Regions from separate parts of the Homo sapiens genome. Here region 1 is linked to region 2. Evidence: promoter capture Hi-C in 16 types of primary human blood cells and fetal thymus (Javierre and others, 2016). All regions are on one chromosome and are shown on one strand. Each heading gives the region's core, a stretch centred on a gene start or on the middle of the fragment in contact. The rest is flanking DNA. Distances are from core to core; before and after follow the strand shown. Region 1 has its middle 860 kb from the start of FAM41AY1. Region 2 holds the start of UTY (ubiquitously transcribed tetratricopeptide repeat containing, Y-linked).

What was found. Contacts are between HindIII fragments. The CHiCAGO score rates a contact against its expected background, and 5 or more counts as called.
Region 1: a contact is called between a fragment that was not itself captured here and the fragment with the promoter of UTY in region 2, in 2 of 17 cell types (naive B cells and total B cells). The highest score is 8.2, in naive B cells.

What each region holds. Positions count from the first base shown.
Region 1 is chrY:16,642,717-16,648,171 of GRCh38, forward strand. No RefSeq gene overlaps it. Among named protein-coding and RNA genes, the nearest start is that of FAM41AY1, 860 kb to the right of the region's middle. The HindIII fragment of the contact is 661 bases long and covers 3,284-3,944 here.
Region 2 is chrY:13,476,759-13,481,965 of GRCh38, forward strand. UTY (ubiquitously transcribed tetratricopeptide repeat containing, Y-linked) reads right to left here and starts at 3,275. Exons shown (of 30, transcript NM_001258249.2): 1 at 2,756-3,275; 2 at 2,496-2,559. The coding sequence starts at 2,907. It overlaps MIR12120 (microRNA 12120), which reads left to right and starts at 2,419; the gene lies at 2,419-2,508. The HindIII fragment of the contact is 7,265 bases long and covers 1,768-5,207 here.

The DNA of each region.
Region 1 (5,455 bases), core at 2,364-4,863, 3.2 Mb after region 2:
AAAATTGGGCTTGGTGTTCCTCTTTTCCTTGGCTAACTTCAGAAACTTTATTTACACTGGTGGCCTTTTGAGCTTCTTTTTCAGCCCTTCAATTAATGCCTCCTGGTATCATCTTAGCCTCTGCATATCTGGTCTTTCATTCAGATCCCATTGAGGGTCCATTCCTGACAGCTGAATTCTTATGTATTCCTGGGGATTTTGGTAATTGGCTGAGACGTGCTCCTCTAGCCATTTAGTTGCCACCTGGAGCACCCTTCACCTTTCATCTGTGTTAAAGAGGTACATGAGTAGCTGGTGGCAATCAGCCCAAGTAGGATTATGAGTCTGTATAATCATTTGGAGCAAGTCAATTAACGCTTGAGGCTTTTCAGTGTTAAGATGGAGTATTATTTTTCCAATGAAGAGGTCAGCAGAGGTGAAAGGGTGATATACGAAGGCACACCTCTCCACCATGTATCCATCCTCATCTACCCCAGTGTATTGCTGTTCTCTCAGGGGCATTTAGATTCTATTCTTGGGCCATAAATGGGCAGGCAAAGGAGGAGTTTCTCCTGCAGCTTCACTTCCTTTCTTGTCTACTCTGAGTGGCCTAGGGGCTGTGGGCTGAGGAGTAGGGGTCTCTTTGCTGTAAGGCAGGGGGCACTGTTTGTGCCATCTCCTGCCACAAGTCTTCAGGCTCTGGGTCAGACAAAACTTTAGGGGATGGCTTTCCTCTTCAGGTGGAACGAGAACCTTCCTTAACTAACTGTCCCTCTGCTACTAGTACTGCTGCTGCCTGTCCCCTTAACCACTGCAGGGGATCTAAAACTAGCTGTAACCAGAAATCTATATATGGGAACTGATCTTGGTGTCCTGTCTTGCCAGTTACTTTTGCCATACCTTTGAAACAAGAGACCTGTCCAGGCTTCTTTCTGATGGCCAGCATACCTCTAATTCTGGCCAATCTATTTCACACAAAGTTCTAAGTTTTCCTGGAGTCATAGCGACTCCATAGTCTCCCTTGAATCCTTTCTTGAAATTCTTTAACATAGTTCCCAACAGGGTGGGCTTACTTTGCACCTGGCCCAGGTTTTCTCAAGACAAAATACCACGCCCACACCACACACTCACCACATAACAAAGAACAGGTAAAGAGGGCACGCACACACCTTTATCATTCATACCAAACCAAAATCAGAGTATTAGCCCAAGTCAAAACCAAAACCAAGTATCAAGCAATTCAGGTAAAGTCAAAACCAGAACAATAGTGTCAATACAGACACACTGTGGGTGATCAGGCCATGCTTCCACTCAAATAGAGTGGGCAAGTTTCAAAGACTAGTCTTACCAAGTTTCAGATGTCTGCACTCCAAGTGCCAGTTCCTCCCTTGTGTTCAGCCACTGCGTTGATCCTCCATGTGGGCCTGGCACATGCTGCTCTGGCAAGGCATTCCACCAGGGCAATTGCCTACCTGGGATCACTCTTTGGATCACGTCACTAAGGCAGGCCAGAGTCTCCCACAGGGATGCTCCATAGAGCAGGCCTAAGCTGCCTAAGGGGATGCCTCAGCCGTCCGTCAGTTACCTCGCTTCCTGATCAGGGAAACAAGAAATGTAGCAGGATGAGCTGCAGACAAAACCTCACAGACACTGAGGGAGTGGAGGAAGTGGCTTTAGTCAGCTGGAAGCATCAGCAGACTAACATCTCAAAATCCGAGCTTCTTGAGTGCACAAATTCTGTCCCTTTTAAGGGCTCACAATACTAAAGATTTTACATGAAAGTGTCATGATTGATTGAGCCATCTAGGGAGTATGTGACAGGGGTTTCATGCACCGGTTGTCAGAGTGAAACAGAACAGAAAGGGAAGTTTCACAATGTCCTTCCATACAATGTCTGGAATGTACGGATAACATCGGTTGCTAGGTCATGGGTTGAATTTTAACTATCAAGCTAATGTCAGGCAGGCTCAGGCCTGGTTTTGGGTCTGGTGCCTGGCACTGGGCTGCTTGCCTTTAGTTTCACTTCCTTGTTTCTTCTTAAAACAGGTACTGAGTATAAAACAATACATAACAATGTGGGAGGATCTCTTTCATTCTTCTCTCATTATCATGAAATATGCTGTGTGAGACTATTTTTAATGCATTGATTTATATGTTTCCCTCTTTTGCCTTTTTGTAACTGTTTACAAAATCATACCTGATTAAATTACATGTATTTGATGGTTTTTTTTTTTTTTTTTTTGAGACAGTCTCGCTCTGTCTCCAAAGTTGGAGTGTAGTGGCAGGATCTTGGCTCATTGCAAGCTCTCCCTCCAGGGTTCATGCCATTCTCCTGCCTCAGCCTCCCTAGTAGCTGGGACTATAGGTGCCTGCCACCACATCCAGCTAATTTTGCTAATTTTTTGTATTTTTAATAGAGATAGGGTTTAACCATGTTAGCCAGGATGGTCTCGATCTCCTGACCTCATGATCCACCTGCCTAGGCCTCCCAAAGTGCTGGGATTACAGGCATGAGCTGCTGTGCCCAGCTTTGACTGATTTTTTAAAATATACCAAGCAGTGGGTCATGACAGTAAAAAAGTCACCTGTTATGCTCAAATTAATCTGATTAAGGAAACATAGCATAATCTTTGTCAAGAATCATTTCATTTTTCCCTTTCAGTGATTCAGTATAAATACTTCAGATGAGAATCAATATTTATAATTTTCAGAGTACTGCCTATAAAATAGTGAAAAGCAATTTGTCAATGTGATTACATATTAGGTGGTAACATTTAGACCCTGTCAAGTCTGAACATTGAATAATTTGAAGGATTTCTACAAAAGGAAATATAATACTTTAGAAAGAGATTGGCTTTTGGCTCTATATCATAAATTGGTCCATTTTGTAGAATTACGTATTTATAATAACATCTAGTCAGAGCATGGAGGAAAGGAAGCATTCTTGATTACACTGTCACACATTTTTATGACTACTGCACTCAGATAGTAGCAGCAGAAAATGGATGTTTATCTCATTTATCTTTGCTTTCTCAATATGTCACCATTCCCAGTAAATCACTTTTGAATGAAATCTTGCAAAATTATGTTACATACTACTCTGGCTTAGTGAATAGAATCTAAAGCTTCGATATTTATTTCAGGTTCTGAATTGGTCAAATATTCTATGGGATGGAGTGAAATATGTCCAGGGCAGGATCACTTTGGATATTAACTTTCTACACTAAACTACTTTTTATTAAATGGTTGGTTTTAGAATGCTTAATTTATCAAAACATACCCATTTTAAATGTGTAACAAACAAAGCTTTCATGTGTAGTATTTTGACCTAGAAGAAAATTTTTTTCTAGTGCTTCTTTACTACTGATTTTATTTATTTTATTTTTTTGATACAGTGTTTTACTCTGCCACCCAGGCTGGGATATGACGGTGCAATCTTGGCACACTGCAGCCTTTGCCTCCCCAGCTCACGCAACCACAACCCTTCCACCTCAACCTCCTAAGTTGCTGGGACTACAGTCATGCACCACCACACTTGACTAGTTTTTGTGTTTTGTGTAGAGGTGAGATTTTGCCATGCTGCCCAGGCTGGTCTCGAACTCCTGGATTCAAGCAATCTCCCTCCTTGGCCTCCCAAAGTGTTAGTATTACAGCCATGAGCCACTGCAATGGACAACATAAATCCAGTTTTTACCATACGTTAGCTAATGCTAGAAGAGAATAAAACTTTTACATTGCATATTGAATAAGAATTGTGAAAAGAAGAATGCAGTTTTTAAAAATGATTTTCAAGGTAGTTTCCAGTGGAAGATTTAATATACTTAAATGATAACTAATCCATTTGAAGACAGCATTGGCTTGGGCAATTCAGGTTAAGAGAATGACAAGTCCTCTTTAGAAATGTCCAACCTGTCAACACATTAGTATGTGTTCCGGGGAAAGTATTTTCCATGAGAATCTCATTAAGCTTCAAGAAAACTTGTCATAAACAGTGAATAAAAGAACAGTTCAAACATAATCTGTCAAACAAGAATTCTTTGAGTCATCACAAATTATTTTTGGGTAAGAGATACAATGAATGCTTCAAAAAATCAAGGGATATTGAAATGTTTCATAGTGAAAAACCTCTCTCCTACTTGTGAATCCATATCCTGTATCCTATGCCTTGAACCAGCTGCACTGTCAGCTGGTGTCTGGAGATTTTTCTTTTACTTTTTCTTTTCTTTTCTTTTCTTTTTTCTTTTCTTTTCTTTTCTTTTCTGTTCTTTTCCCTCCCTCCCTCCTTCCCTCCCTCACTCCCTCCCTCCCTTCCTCTCTCTTCCTTTCTTTCTTTCTCTTTCTCTTTCTCTTTCTCTTTCTTTCTTTCTTTCTTCTCTTTTTTTTTTTTTGACAGAAACTTGTTCTGTCACTCAGGCTAAAGTACAGTGGCATGATCTCAGTTCATTGCAACCTCTGCCTCTCAGGATCAAGCAATTCTACTGCCTCAGCCTCCAAAGTAGTTGGGATTATAGGCACATGCCACCATGCCCAGCTAATTTTTGTATTTTTAGTAGAGACAGGGTTTCACCATGTTGGCCAGGCAGGTCTTGAACTCCTGACCTCAAGTGATCCTCCTGCTTCCCAAAGTTCTGAGATTATATACATGAGCCTCTGCACCCTGCCTCGTTTCTGGACATTGACTCTTTATCCTTTTCTGTCTGGATCCTGGCCCATCTTTGAGAAACTTCCCCAACCCTCTGTTTTCTGCTTAAGTTTGACCAGTAGATACCAGAAGATTGGGCAGAGTATGAAATTGAGTCATCCATTCCCGGAAGCTGTTTTCTGGGCTTTTATGCAAAGCTAAAATCCCTCTTTTCAAATTTTTTTGACAGCCACAGCCTATGTTCAGAATTTAATAACTGTTTCATGCATTGGCCCCATAGGGGTACCAGGTCTTCCTGCTGTAACTAATCCAGTTTCCCACTCCTCATTTCCTCACATGTATGCACCATGTCCTTTTATCAAGCCATCCTCAATTATCCTTACATGAGAGTGCCATCTGTTTCCCTTAAACCTCAACTCAGACAAGTAGAGCTAAATATATTAATGTCTTATGAATCCATCCCAAAAATTCTCGGTGAAATTTCAAGCAAATACAAATGCCCATGTTCATTTTCCACATTCCACACAAGACATGTCGTATACATTTATTCTGTCCTCTACTTACTAATCCTTTGTTATTTTACTTAGCAGTATATTCTGACCATCTTATCATGACGCTACATAGTAATTCCTAAATACCATATTTTTAGAGCAACAATTTCCTTCATACATATGGAAAATAATTTATGTGTGTATCCAATTATCTATTTAAAAATGCAACTACAAATAACTTTGTGCTTATGTTTCATAAAAGTGTGTATGTATCAGTAGGATAATTTTCTAGTGTAAGATTTCTGGGTCAAGTATAGGCACACTTGTAATATTCTTAGATATT
Region 2 (5,207 bases), core at 2,025-4,524:
ATAAGTTACAGAATTTTAAGGAAATCTATTGTTACAACCATCCTAATGGTTTGATATGCGGGTTCACGTATGAGGTCAAAAAAAAAAAAAATCAGAGAAACTAGTCGTTGGGATAGAGCATCCTCAATGTCCAGAAAACTTGACAGGGAAAAAAGCATATTTATAACAATATTTTAAACCTTTAGAAGCTTGTAAAACAATACTGACATTAGTAAAATCTATAAATAAAACTTTCATAGAAAACATAAATACGAATAAAAACTGAAATATCAGTGAAATAGATCATTCTAAGAACTTTTTTAAAAAACAGTGATATATGCAAAGCTCTGTGAGAAAGGGAAAAAATACTTTATTATACATACTGTAGAATAATTTGTCTTGGAGAACAGGTACTATGGTTTGAATATGTCCCCCAAAGTTCATGCATTGAAAACATAATCCTCAATGCAACAGTGTTGTGAAATGATGTCTTTAAGATTTGACAACATCATAAGCAGGCTGCTCTCATGGATGGGTTAATGTCATAGTGAGGATAGGTTCATTACAGAGAGTTAGGCATCCCCCATCTCTTGCACTGTGATATACTTTCTTGCCCTTCCACCTTCTCCAAAGAATGATGCAGCACTAAAGCCCTCATGAAACGCAGCCCCTTGATCCTGGACTTCCCAGCCTTCAGAATCCTGAGCCAAATGAAGTGAAATTGAGTTAATATTTTTTTCATTTCAAAAAAGTCACTGCAGTTTAATATACGGCATTACTCAGTGTTTTATGAAGCTACAGTTCTCCCCAAACATAATGAAACCACTTTCTCATATTTAAAATGTTACTGTAATCAAAATTGGAAAGGATCAATATGTGAAAAAAAAATTCCTTAAAATTTAAACCCCATATTGTCTATCTGAAAAGTTCATTCCAAACTAAAATGTTAACCACAACCCACTGAGAATTTATCCTAACTCCAGCATATGAAGATTTAAAGTTCTCAACCAGTATTTTCCCACATTATCCCAGAAAACATCAAATTACTTTTATTTCATTATCATAACTATTTTAAACATTAAGGCAGATCGAGTCACTGTTGCTTAAATCGTATCATTGATACTATAACATGTTTTTCATAAAGCTATTTTCACTTGCATAATCAAAGTTTAACTCATGTTTCATTTATCAGTCAAATAAAGTGGATTTACTAACTATATATATACACATTATACATACATATATATATTACATTTTAGTTTTCTGATCAGTATTTGCCCCCAAAACAAACATACAAAGGAGATTATAGGTAAAAGAACTCAGCGTCTGTACTGAATTAAACTACAAAGTAAAACGTCTTGGTAAGTAAAATGTTCATCCTGAGAAAATAATTAGTATTTCCTTGTCAAATACAATAATAAACTGAAATTCTTAACTACTGGCTTCAGCATCTAAAAGATGGCGCGATTGTTGTACCGTTCTTATTTCACGGGACCAATTGACAACATACAAATACTTTAACAAGATTTTGGTGAGAGGGTAAAAAACGATACACACAGGAATATTCCAGGGCCAAGTTACGCAACAATTCACGTGGGAGTAACTAAACATGCTGCAATTAATAAGCACATATAGGTTTAAAAATGCTGCTGTCAATGTTGGAGATAACGCAAGAATTCTACTTTTAAATAATAATAATTTTTAATAAGCAACATGAAGCTACGTCAGCGCTCTTTACGGTCTATTCCTTGCTAAGGTTTCCGGGTTAATACCTCCACCCTCTTCCCAAGCTTCCCCCTTTATTGCTCCTCCCCCTTTTTACCCGCCATCTTGGCTGATAGGAGCAGCCATTAACTAAACGACAGTGCCAACTTTTCACACAAACAACAAATTCTTCCCACTGTGAGCATGACACCTAAGAAACAAGGTTCCTGAATGGAAAAAGCACACACATTCATGAAATCACATTTGCAGCACTGTGCATCCTAAAAAAGTCAACAAATCACTAAACTTCAGGCTAAACATACACGCATCAGTTTATAGGTCAAATATCTACTGCAAACTCTTCACCGCTGTAACTTACTTGCTACTTACACTTAGGACACCAGGGATATTTTTTTTAAAAAGGCAAAAAAATGTTTAAAATTAGACACCAAGAGCCAAATACCAAAAGGCGAGGGGAAGAAGCAGGAAGTTATGAATTTTGAAAACTGTACACATTCACTATTTGTGACGCTAAAATTCAGGAACAAAAGGCCCTAAAGTAACAGGCATGTGGTGTAGACCCGGTTTAGCCCGGTCCCAAAGCGTCCGATTTTTTTTTTCCTCAGAGTAGAAGGGAGTCTGGAGCAAGGGGCGAAGTATTCCAGAGTACGGGGACAGCAAAGGCAAGAAACACTTTTCCGACCCCTTGGCCATGGAGCAGAGCCAAAATAAATACTGGCTGGGCGGTAAGGAACGCGGGGCCTTGGTAGAGCAAAGTGCGGACCAAAGACTTTGCGTCTGGTTGCTTTTACCTTGCCTAGTAGGGTCTTCGTTCTGGCGCCATCTTCATGAAGCCTCACGAACCCGAAGAGACGGCTGTAGAGAGAGAGACACAGAGCTTGTTAATGGTCTGAGAAAGCCAGTGACTTGCTCCTTCCCGAGTCCAAGAGCGACAGCGACAGATTGGTGAGTGCCAAGCTGAGGATGACCCCGTCATCAACGTGGGCAAGCTGCGTCCAGGCCTTCCCGGAGAGTATCGCCAGCCAACCAGGCGGGTGATGGAGGTGCGTACCTGTCCATGCCACCAAGCGCCTCCCTTTCCTCGACTGTCAGGCTAACAGACTCCTCTTCACTCTCGCGGCTCGCTTTTCCTTCCGCCATTTTCTTTGCCTCATCACCGAAGGCAACAGCGGCGGTAGTGAGCGACACTGCGCAGGATTTCATGGAAACAACAAATTTCCAAGTCCCACGACGATACCCAACCTTAATCGAGTAGTTGAAAAGACGCCTTCAATCGCTGCTTGAGACTGTGACGCCAATTTTATCGCCTCCTCAGCGGCTGCAAGGAAAAAAGCTGAGGCAAAGACTTAAGCTACCGAAGCACGGGCAGCGGAACTCGGCTACCTGGATCACATCTGGGAAACTACAGGGAAGGCAGAAGCTCGCAGTGCTGGAGAGCACAGCAGAATTTCTTAAAATCACAAACTTTGCCAGCACCAGCACAAAGTTGTAATTGTGTCACGGGCGAACCCCACGCAGCCGCCGCGACCTCCCCGCTCCCAACCACTTAGTTGTAGCCAATCTAGGCGACTGATTCGTCTCACGTGATCTTTGTTGACTTACGTCAGGCATTGCTCCACTGTACTCCTAGGCTGCTGGGACCCCGCCCAGCCAGTTCGCCAAGGACCTAGGAACATGACAGAGGCTGACTGATTCTGACCGCTGGTTGGTTGATGGTCACGTCTATGGAGAAAAGGGTAGTCTCTGGGATGGAACAACCTGTAGGTTGTGCTAGTTAAATGCATTAAGATAGAAAATGGAGTGTCTGTGCTGGGTGTTTTTGCAGTTGCGATACGCTTGAAGGGGAAGAGAGCGATGGGAAGGGCGGCATCGGGCATCACCCACGGGGCGCAAATGCGAAAAGAGGACACCATGGACTTTAGGAGAGTCCGTAATGAGGCTCCCACTGTCACAAGCCTTGCGAATGCGAGACCTTGCGGGGCATGGCAGGGAAGCTGCGCAGGCCCTAAACCTTCACCCTCAAGACTTTTGGCCCTAAGGCCTTGTCACCTCCATAGGCTGGTTCTTTGCCCATTTCCTCTCCACTGACCAAGTCTAAAGAGAAGGCATAATATCTTATGACCTCAGTCGGTAAGCCAGGCCCTAGGGAATCAACGTGGCAACTGCATTTATCAGTTCATGATATTATCTAAACAACAAACGATGAGCAAAAAAAAAAAAAAAAAAAAAAGTTACTCCACAAACCCAAAATGTTTATTTCTATTGTGATAATGATAATTCCGTGAGGTCTCAGTAAGAGTAGGAGCTTCTGTGGACAGGAATTATAAGAACAATAATTAAGACCTTCATCACACTTTCAAGATGCAGTAACCCTTAGAAAAGAAAAAAACACCACTTTTTTCTTACTTTCTCAATTGTAACCAAAATTATAAATAATAGGTAAAAGAATTTATTTCTGAACCCCAAATATCTGAGAGAGGTCTTAGTCAATTTAAAAAGTTTATTTTGCAAGACTTACCCATGATACATTTGCCCAAGGTGGTCAGGGCACAGCTTGCTTTTGTACGTTTTAGGGAAACATGATTGGTTCGGTCAGGTAAGAGGGACAGCTCGAAGCGGGGGCTTCCATGTTAGAAATAGATAAGAGACAGGTCGGGCGCTGTGGTTTACGCCAGTAATCCCAGCACTTTGGGAGGCCGAGGCGGGCAGATGACCTAACGTTGGGAGTTTCAGACCAGCGTCACCAACATGGAAAAACCCCGTCTCTACTAAAAATACAAAATTAACAGAGCATGGTGGCGCATGCCTGTAATCTCAGCTACTCTGAAGACTGAGGCAGGCGAATCGCTTGAACCCAAGAGGCGGAGGTTGCGGTGAGCCGAGATGGCACCATTGCATTCCAGCCTGGGCAACAAGAGCAAAACTCCGTCTCAAAAAAAAAAAAAAAAAAAAAAATGTAGATAAGAGACAAGAGTTTGCATGCTTTTGAGTCCTTGATCAGCCTCCTACTGAATACAGAATTTAGTCCGGCTAGTAACTCTGTATTTTTACATAAATAAATAATAAGGCAGAGGAAGCAATCAGATATGCAGTTGTCTCTTGTGCGCCTCACAGGGATAACTTTGAGTTGGGTCTGTCCTTTGTCCACAAGGAATTTCCTTGTGGGCACGTTGTGAGGAACGTATGTAGCTTCTTATCTTTGTACGTATCTTATTTAGGAATAAAATGGGAGGCAAGTTTAGTGACATAGTTCCCAGCTTGACTTTTCCGTTACTTAGTGATTTTGGGATCCCAAGATTAATTTTTTTTTCTCATATTATATGGCATATGTATGTTGAGGAATTGTGTATATTTTTCTATGTAAAGAATCTATAAAAAGTCTCATATATATTAAACGCCTCTGTTGATTACTGTTTTCAAAAGACAAATTGCATAATATTCCATGTATCAAATAGTTTACTGGTTATACCTCCAGATATTAGATATTACAAAAATGTTAATTA